2 separate regions of the Homo sapiens genome follow, and region 2 is linked to region 1. The links are contacts of gene promoters, found by promoter capture Hi-C in blood cells and fetal thymus (Javierre and others, 2016). All regions are on one chromosome and are shown on one strand. Each heading gives the region's core, a stretch centred on a gene start or on the middle of the fragment in contact. The rest is flanking DNA. Distances are from core to core; before and after follow the strand shown.

Evidence for each region. Contacts are between HindIII fragments. The CHiCAGO score rates a contact against its expected background, and 5 or more counts as called.
Region 2: a contact is called between a fragment that was not itself captured here and the fragment with the promoter of CDH5 in region 1, in 1 of 17 cell types (activated CD4 T cells). The highest score is 5.0, in activated CD4 T cells.

The regions. Positions count from the first base shown.
Region 1 is chr16:66,364,694-66,369,340 of GRCh38, forward strand. It overlaps CDH5 (cadherin 5), which reads left to right and starts at 1,998. Exons shown (of 12, transcript NM_001795.5): 1 at 1,998-2,065. LOC105371318 (a long non-coding RNA gene) reads right to left here. Exons shown (of 3, transcript XR_933687.3): 3 at 1-234. RefSeq lists enhancers at 1,891-2,440, 3,251-3,957 and a silencer at 4,485-4,564. The HindIII fragment of the contact is 26,652 bases long and covers 1-4,647 here.
Region 2 is chr16:66,456,454-66,461,100 of GRCh38, forward strand. The region is part of intron 2 of BEAN1 (brain expressed associated with NEDD4 1); the gene reads left to right. It also overlaps the pseudogene LOC107984807. Among named protein-coding and RNA genes, the nearest start is that of BEAN1-AS1, 18 kb to the right of the region's middle. The HindIII fragment of the contact is 4,152 bases long and covers 533-4,647 here.

The DNA of each region.
Region 1 (4,647 bases), core at 748-3,247:
ACAGGGGACAGAGCACTGTCCTGGCTCCTCTGCGGCCAACCCCCCCTCTGGGCAGGAGAAAGCAGAGTTAATCCCATTGGAGAAGGAAGCGCTGAGCTGTTGTTTGTTCATTCCACAATCGGCTGTTGAATGTGTTGGATCCCACTCAGAATTCCGCCCCAAGGACTGTTCTCCTTCCAGCAGGTCGCTCCTCAGTCTCCAGCATCATCTGTCTTCCCGTCTGCTGGATGCTCCCTGGGGACATGAGCGTGCTGCCATAGTTAAAAAAAAAAAAAAAAAAAAAAAAAAAAAACCCTCCCACTTCTCTGCTCCCATTCACTGTAAGACTTGGGGAAGAAGCTACAGTCACACGTGACTCCACATCCCCGTCCCCCTTTCTCCCCTTTCTCTAGCCCCTCCAATCTGTCTTGTCTACCTTTTCCTGTTTAACCTGTTCTGGTCACAGTCATTGATGACCTCATCTTCCAAATCCAAAGTTAAGTCTCAGCCCTCATGCTCCCCAGGCTGACCCACTGACTACTCCCCTGCCCTCCTCCTCTGCCCTCTCCTGGCATTCCTCCTTCATCATGGGACCCTCTTCTAATGGATCCCCAAATGTCAGAGGGTCCAAGTCCTCCCTCCCTCCAAGCTCATCCATGCCCATGGCCTCAGATGCCAGCCATAAGCTGTTGGGTTCCAAACCTCGACTCCAGGCTGGACTCACCCCTGTCTCCCCCACCAGCCTGACACCTCCACCTGGGTATCTAACGAGCATCTCAAACTCAACCTGCCTGAGACAGAGGAATCACTATCCCCTCCTCCTCCAAAAATATCCTTCCATCACACTCCCCATCTTGTGCTCTGATTTACTAAACGGCCCTGGGCCCTCTCTTTCTCAGGGTCTCTGCTTGCCCAGCTATATAATAAAACAAGTTTGGGACTTCCCAACCATTCACCCATGGAAAAACAGAAGCAACTCTTCAAAGGACAGATTCCCAGGATCTGCCCTGGGAGATTCCAAATCAGTTGATCTGGGGTGAGCCCAGTCCTCTGTAGTTTTTAGAAGCTCCTCCTATGTCTCTCCTGGTCAGCAGAATCTTGGCCCCTCCCTTCCCCCCAGCCTCTTGGTTCTTCTGGGCTCTGATCCAGCCTCAGCGTCACTGTCTTCCACGCCCCTCTTTGATTCTCGTTTATGTCAAAAGCCTTGTGAGGATGAGGCTGTGATTATCCCCATTTTACAGATGAGGAAACTGTGGCTCCAGGATGACACAACTGGCCAGAGGTCACATCAGAAGCAGAGCTGGGTCACTTGACTCCACCCAATATCCCTAAATGCAAACATCCCCTACAGACCGAGGCTGGCACCTTAGAGCTGGAGTCCATGCCCGCTCTGACCAGGAGAAGCCAACCTGGTCCTCCAGAGCCAAGAGCTTCTGTCCCTTTCCCATCTCCTGAAGCCTCCCTGTCACCTTTAAAGTCCATTCCCACAAAGACATCATGGGATCACCACAGAAAATCAAGCTCTGGGGCTAGGCTGACCCCAGCTAGATTTTTGGCTCTTTTATACCCCAGCTGGGTGGACAAGCACCTTAAACCCGCTGAGCCTCAGCTTCCCGGGCTATAAAATGGGGGTGATGACACCTGCCTGTAGCATTCCAAGGAGGGTTAAATGTGATGCTGCAGCCAAGGGTCCCCACAGCCAGGCTCTTTGCAGGTGCTGGGTTCAGAGTCCCAGAGCTGAGGCCGGGAGTAGGGGTTCAAGTGGGGTGCCCCAGGCAGGGTCCAGTGCCAGCCCTCTGTGGAGACAGCCATCCGGGGCCGAGGCAGCCGCCCACCGCAGGGCCTGCCTATCTGCAGCCAGCCCAGCCCTCACAAAGGAACAATAACAGGAAACCATCCCAGGGGGAAGTGGGCCAGGGCCAGCTGGAAAACCTGAAGGGGAGGCAGCCAGGCCTCCCTCGCCAGCGGGGTGTGGCTCCCCTCCAAAGACGGTCGGCTGACAGGCTCCACAGAGCTCCACTCACGCTCAGCCCTGGACGGACAGGCAGTCCAACGGAACAGAAACATCCCTCAGCCCACAGGCACGGTGAGTGGGGGCTCCCACACTCCCCTCCACCCCAAACCCGCCACCCTGCGCCCAAGATGGGAGGGTCCTCAGCTTCCCCATCTGTAGAATGGGCATCGTCCCACTCCCATGACAGAGAGGCTCCTCGAGGGCACGCTGGGCCTCCTCGTGGCTCAGAGCAGGGTCGGGGAAGGTGCACCCAGAGGTAGTGCCAAGGGCACAAATGGGCATCTCGGGGCTGAGGGGGGCAGGGCAAGGGCTTGGCTCTCCCAGAAGTGTATTCTCCAACTCAAAAAGGCCCACTGGCCTTCATCAGTGCCAGGCTCAGAGAGGGCAGTATTCTGCCCCAGTTGCCCAGCATGCCGGGGCAGAGGACTGGCACCCAGGCCTTGGCCTCCCCTCGGTGCCTTACCCTTACTGGAGAGGATTTACCAAGGCCTGACACCAGCCTCCTCAGCCCCCTACCCATACGCCACTAAAGCTCTATGCTGGGATCTGGGGAGGGGCCCTGAAAAGGAAGCTCCGAGCCTTGGCCCCTCTCGGTCAGCCAGTGCCCCCATTTCAGGATAGGCAAGCTGAGGCTTGGCTCTGGGCACTTGAGGTCTTGCCTTTCCCTCTGGGCCTTTCCCTGCCCAAACACCATCGGGGCCCACTATGTGTCAAGGGAGCTGTAGTCTGGACAGCGGTCCACCATTCCTCCCACCAGCACCCTTTCAAAGGCTAGAGCATAAGAGCCCCAAGGCCCCCACAGCCCAGGAAGTCCCCCAGAAGCAGGAGGTCTGGGCCAAGAGCCTGGCCTGGAGACAGCTGCCCTGGGTACAGATCCCAGCTCTCCCATTTGCTCTGGGGTGACCTTGGGAAAGTTACCCAGAGTTTCCAAACCACAGTGGGGAACAAGGGATGGTGTGGGGCTCATTATTTTACCATTAACAACTCCACAAGGTAGATACATTCTTTCTTTATATCTCAGTGAAAGCAACTGAGCTTTGGAAACATATGAGCTGGTGTGGGGATTTGAACCAGGATCTCGTACTCCAAAGCCCCAGCTCTCCCCAGGTCTCAAGTGTCTCATCTGTGAAATGGGGAAACAGTGTTTCCTCAGTCAATTGAGTGAAGTGAGCTACATCCCTGGTGCTGGGAATGGCACATAACATGAGATCTTTAAGGAATAGTGGCTGGATTTACCAGCTAGCACAGAGCCGATCCTGGTTGTGAATGTGATAAAGATTTTGGCCCTTGAGGTATGGTCAAACCCCATCACGGAGGGGTCCTCAGGTGCCCAGCAGGTACGAGGAAGGGGGTGCAAGTGAGAGGACATCGCGAGCACCTCTGGGCCTCTGCTCCATGTCAGGCTCCCTCCCCAGCGTGGACGTTTCTCATGTGTGATGGGCAGATAGGATTCTGACAAGAGAGGAAGGGCATTCCCAGGGAGGCAGCTTTGAGGAGTCGAGGGTGTACCTGGAAGGCTCTTTTGCCACAGGCCACTGGAGCCAGGGCCAGAAGCCCTGGTCCATCCTCAGGTGGTGGGAAGCCTGGGACTCTCCTCTGCCTGCCCTAGAGAGCAGCAGGTATCCACCAAGGGGCCCAAGAGCTGCTGAGCCCCTGAGCAGCCCTACCAATTTCAGCTTATGGTGGTGAGGGGTAGGGGAGGTGTATACTGGCCTGGAAGGGGTTAAGCTGCCCGCCTGCAGCCTCAGCCTGAGCTATTGTGTTGCCAAACAAGGGCCGGACATGAGGGCAGGAAGCCAGCAGGGGCCACACATTTTCTGCAAAGTTGGATGATTCACTGCTGACTTGGGGACACCCAGGGGACAGAGGGGACACCATCCCAGGAAGAATCTTAGGCTCATTTTGCCCACATGGACCCATGACTGTTCCCTGTATCCTCTCTCTGCACCCCCTCAGTCACACTGAAGCAACTATGAGAATTCCCATTTGACAGATGGGACCATCGAGGCTGAGGGAAGCTGTGCAGCCAGTCCAAGGTCACACAACCAACACAAGGTAGAAGCAGGGTGAGTGCGGTTCCTTCTGACCCACAGTCCATGCCACACTCCACAGTGAAGCTCAGAGAGGGGGAAAGCAGAGCAGTCCAGGCCACAGAGGCAGGCACAGGGACAAGCCAGGAGCCCAGTGATACCAGGGGAAGGAATGTTCTAGGAGGCAGGGCCTCAGGAGCTTCACCTCTGGCTGAGGAGATACTAAAAAGTCTGTCCTGATCCAGGTTCAAGCTGGTGTTAAGTGGGTAAATCATGGAGGGCTTGCTGGAGGAAGAGTGGGAATCCCAGATGCTAGGAGGCCTTGGGCAGCCCCTCTGCAGCCTGCACCTCAGTCTTCCCATCTCTTGAGAGTAGGGGATGGTCCCTAAACTAATTCAGGGATTTCCAGGTTGTCTGCCTTGGACCATAGCAAAACAGTCAGATCCTGGCAGGTCCAGATACTAGAAGGAGGAGGAAGTGGGACCCAGGGGCAGGCCGGGCTGGTGGTGAATGAGATTTCCTTCTGCAGAGGAACAGAAAGAGTAGGAGGTGGGCCCAGAGTAGAGCCAGGAAATGAGGTCAAGCGTAAGTTGGCCAGTCAAAGCCACACCCACCAGGCTGGAG
Region 2 (4,647 bases), core at 1,359-3,858, 92 kb after region 1:
TGCACAGTAACTCCACTGGCATTATATTATATATATAAAAGCCTCTGGGCTCTTTGTGGAAAATGGCCCAAGAGCCAACTCTAGATGGTGATGGAAGAGAAGAGAATATGAGCAGGTTGAGTCCAGTCATTATTCTAGCAAGAAAATGAGAGCTTGGTGTGGGTTCAAGTGGAATGTTTAATTCTAATGTGGCTTGGTTCTGTGATGTCAACCAGTTTGCCATTTGCTCTGCAGAAATAGGGAAAAGTAATTTGTGAAATTGTTTCAGTGAGTTTTTCAGCCAATAAATAAGTTCTTCTTTAAGCCGGAGTTAAAACCTTAGTGAATGATGACAAGGTGGTAAACTTAAGGAAGTTAGATACGCAGAGGAATATGTGCGTTACTCTTAGTGAGTTTATTTAAATAAACTTAAGTGGCAGAATGTATCTTAATAGTGGAATGAATTGCTTTCATCTTACATTTATAGAACCATTAAGGGTTTGTGGGTGGTCACTTGTATTTTTCCAGTTACGTTTTAACACAATGGTTGAAAAGCTTCTATTTGGCAGTAAAGTGCTCTCCTGTTCACTCTGACACATTAAACAGATGGAAGCAGAGGTGGGAGCAGGGAACAGTGCCAGGGCAGCTGTGTGGGACCTCTTGCTTTCCCCAGTTTGAGAGGTCCATTTTAGTCTGATTCATATTTGTGTTCCCAGTGTCTAGCATATATCCAGGCATGAATTAAGTGTTTGGTGAGTATTGGTGAGGGGATGGGTGGATGGATGGATGAATGACGGATGGATGGATGATTAATGGATGGATGGATAAGTGAACGATTGAGTGGATGTTGAGTAGATGCATAGATAGGTAAATGCCTGAGAGGATGGATGATTTGCTGGCTGGGTGAATTGATGGAGGATTGTTGAATAGGGACTGATGAATAGGTATATGACTTCACCTTCCATGTCTCCTGTCCACTGTAATCTGCCCCGCTCCCAATGCCACAAATGTCAGGTGGCATGGACCATGACAAGACATTAGTTGACTTCTTGTAGAGATGCATCCTCATTGTAAAAAGTAGTCTGAACACCAAGTATCCTTTTCCTCACCCCATGATCCAAATGTTCAGCTGCCATCAAGGTGACATCCTACAGACTCACCCCTCTGTGTTCCTGCCCATGCTCTTCTCTCCCTTTACTGATCCTGATATGCTTAGTTCATCTTTCGAGACCCAGCCCTTCTGTGTCCTCCTCTCTGAGATGTCCCTGGCCTGTCCCCAGACCTCCAACATCCCTCTATCAGTCTCCTGGTGACCAGAGGACAGATATCAGCAAGTGAGCTAAAAAGTTGCCCAAAAAAAAAAAACAGCAGCAGAGGAGACTCAGAAGTATCCAAACCAATGAGCCCTGCCCTGCCATGTCCCCTCCCCCAGCCCTTCTTGAAGTCCCTGCTTAGAGGATGGGATCAGCCAATGGTGAACAGAGGGAAAATGGTGCCTGAGTCGTGTTCCCTACACTCCTTCCAATGACTCCACGCCTCACCCTGTCCATTTCAGCAGTGGAGGAAGAGTGTACTGATGAGGCCAGACTTGCCCGGGAAGTGGACCTGTGACAAATGTCTTTGGAATTTTTGTGACAGGAGCCATCCATTAGTTCTGAGTCCTTGGCCCCCCTTCTCCCTCTAACCAGCATCTCTGAGAGAGTGGGCAGGATTGGCAGCCTGAAGGTGCTGAGTCAGCACTTTTGCGTCTCTGTTCCTTCCCTTTGTCACTGCAGCTCAGGTAGCTTCAGGCTGCAAAGAGCACTTCCCTGAACCCAGACAGAATGACTGTGGAGCTGCCTCCATGCTACACTCAGCAAGGACTTGGGAGTGATGGTCTGCCTCAGTTTCCCTGCCCTTAATGTTCCCCAGGTTCCCCACACCGGAGCCAGCCCTGACCTAAGCCACCTGATACAGGCCTGGATCTCATTCCCTCCCCTCATAGTTTTTGGCCCCCTCCCCTCCCACCCTGGAGGGAGTTGAATAATCAGTGCCTCTTCAAACAGCCAGCAGGTTCAGAGAGGGCAAGCGGCATGCCGAAGGTCACACAGTGAATGAGTGACAGAACGAGGAACAGAGCCCAGTTCTCCGGCCCCCACCCCCAAACCCCTCAGCCCCACAAAATCCTGCTCTCTCCTTCTGCTCTGTGCTACTATTTGATAAATTATCAGATAAACCTGAGTTCAAACCCCAGCTCTGCCACAAAACCAGGTGGGCAATCTTGAACACATAACTTTAGCTCACCAAGACAAAATGTCCTCATCTGTAAATGAGAGTGACAGTGGTATCCACACAGAGAGGAAGCAAGCCCCAGACTCACTCCCACATCCAGGTCTGCAAAAGGACCTTTTTGCACTTAGGACCTTCTGATTCCATGGAGTTCCCAGTCCCAGCCCTGGACTAGAAGCTGGAGGAGCCAGAGCTGGCTTCTGCCTTGCACAGCAGAGGCCCATGGACCCAGGCACCGCTCCTGCCTCGTCAGGGGACTTGGGGTCCCATCTGTGGAATGGGAATAATACCACGGCTGTCTCTGAAGGCTGCTCAGAAGACAACTAATTGGAGAGGCTAAGGAACTCCCTGCAGTGTCATTCTGTGGCATCAAGTGTGCTCATCCAAGCCGTGCTCAGCTCTGTGCTCACCTCTGTTCAGGGCAGAGGCCGTGGGCTCAGCTTCCTCTAGCCTGAGTTCCAAGCTCATGGGGACCCTTGCAGCAGCCTCCTCCCTGGTCTCCTGCCCCGAACCCTGCCTCTGCCCATTCTGTCCTCCATCTGCAACCCGAGGCTCTCCTAAAACACTCTGACCACGCCCCTCTTTGCCCTTGGGGAAAAGGACAATCTCTTTCTCTTTTTTTTTCTTTTTCTCTTTTGAGGTGGTGTTTCACTCTGTCACCCAGGCTGGAGTGCAGTGGCACAATCTCAGCTCATTGCAACCTCTGCCTCCTGGGTTCAAGCGATTCTCCTGCCTCAGCTTCCCGAGTAGCTGGGATTACAAGCACCTGCCACCATGCAAGGCTAATTTTTTGTATTTTTAGTAGAGACAGGTTTTCACCATGTTGACCAGGCTGATCTCAAACTCCTGACCTCAGGTGGTCCACCCACCTCAGCCTCCCAAAGTGCTGAGATTACAGGCATGAGCCACTGCACCTGTCCCAAAGGACAGTCTCTTGATGTGACCTTGAAGACCCCTCACGGTATGGTCCCTGCAAGCCCCTCCAAACTTAGCCCCCAGCAGGCTTCTCTCCAGCCTCCTCCTCTCTTGTGATTCCTCAAATGCATCAAGTCCTCAGCAGGGCCCCAAGATTCTCCTATAATGGAATTTGCCAGACGGATTTATCACTGATGGGCAGCCCATTCCAGACCAGGACTCTTTAAGTCCTGACTTGCTCTTCTGGCTGAAAGCACCTACTCTGTTCCGACACTCTGCCACTCCTTGTAAATGTCTGTGGATCCCACGATTGGGCTGTGGGGGTTGGGTGGGTGATGGACGGAAGGATGGGCCAATGGGTGACTGGGAGCAGCTCCCCTGGGATGCACTCAGGCACACCGTGCACACCAAGCAACCAGTCACAGACTGCCCCTGGTCCAATTCAAATGGCTCCTGAGCTTCCTCTCTGCACTGGCCCTGCCCAGTATCCTAGGCAGATGGGGTGACAAGAGAGAGAGACACAGGCCCCACCCTCCTGGTGTTCTCAGTCCCTGTGGAACCAGAGCGCTGGAGAGTGCCAGTTCAGGAATTGCAAAGAGCATTCCAGGCTCACCACTTTAACCAGCTCTGTGCTCAGCTTCCCTCTCTGTAAGATGGAGGAAAGACACTCTCCACCTCTCAGGGCTGCTGTGAAGATTAAATGAGAGAAGCATGCATGAAAAGAGTTTAGAGCCTGATGGATGTACAGTAAGTGCTGTCAGTGAGAGCTATCTTATCTTTATCATTGTTCTTCCTCAGTAAAATCACCCAAGGGTCCCTACCTGCAATCTAGAACATCTCTAGGACATACCCAGAGATAGAACAGATACAGAACAGGAGGTCCTCGCACATCCCTGGATGATTTGCTTCTCCCCAGGCACCTGCCTGCTGTGGCCCATCTCTTTCTGAGACACACAGGCTCCCATCTCTGGAATCCTGGTATCTTATGGCAATGTTCAGCTGTTGATACACCTTCATCCTGAATAGCCCCAGGTCATGGCTGGCTCTGGCTATATATCAAGTGGCTCAGAAGAAGCAAAACATCATTTTGGGGAGAAGAGCATTCTCCCTTCACAAGAGTTAAGAAACCAGAACTCCCAGTGCATGGTGCCTGGTAGCCACAGAATAGCATATTGGCTAAGAGCACAGGGCTTCAGTTTTTCACTGACCCAGGTCTCTATCTGTGGGGCTGTGTGACCTTGGGAAAGTTACTTAACCTCTCTGAGGCTGTTTCCTTACCTGTTAACTGGGGAATCCCATTATAGACCATCATGAGGATTAAATGAGATAATGTGGTGCATGACAAGTACCACGTATGGTGTAAGGCATACAATACAGTAGGTGCTCAGGAGATGGTAATTACTCATGCTGGCATTGGGGGGGAGGTGGTATCTCAGAGAAGAGCCTATTTTTTTGAGGTTTCCACTGGATCATGAGCACCTTTAT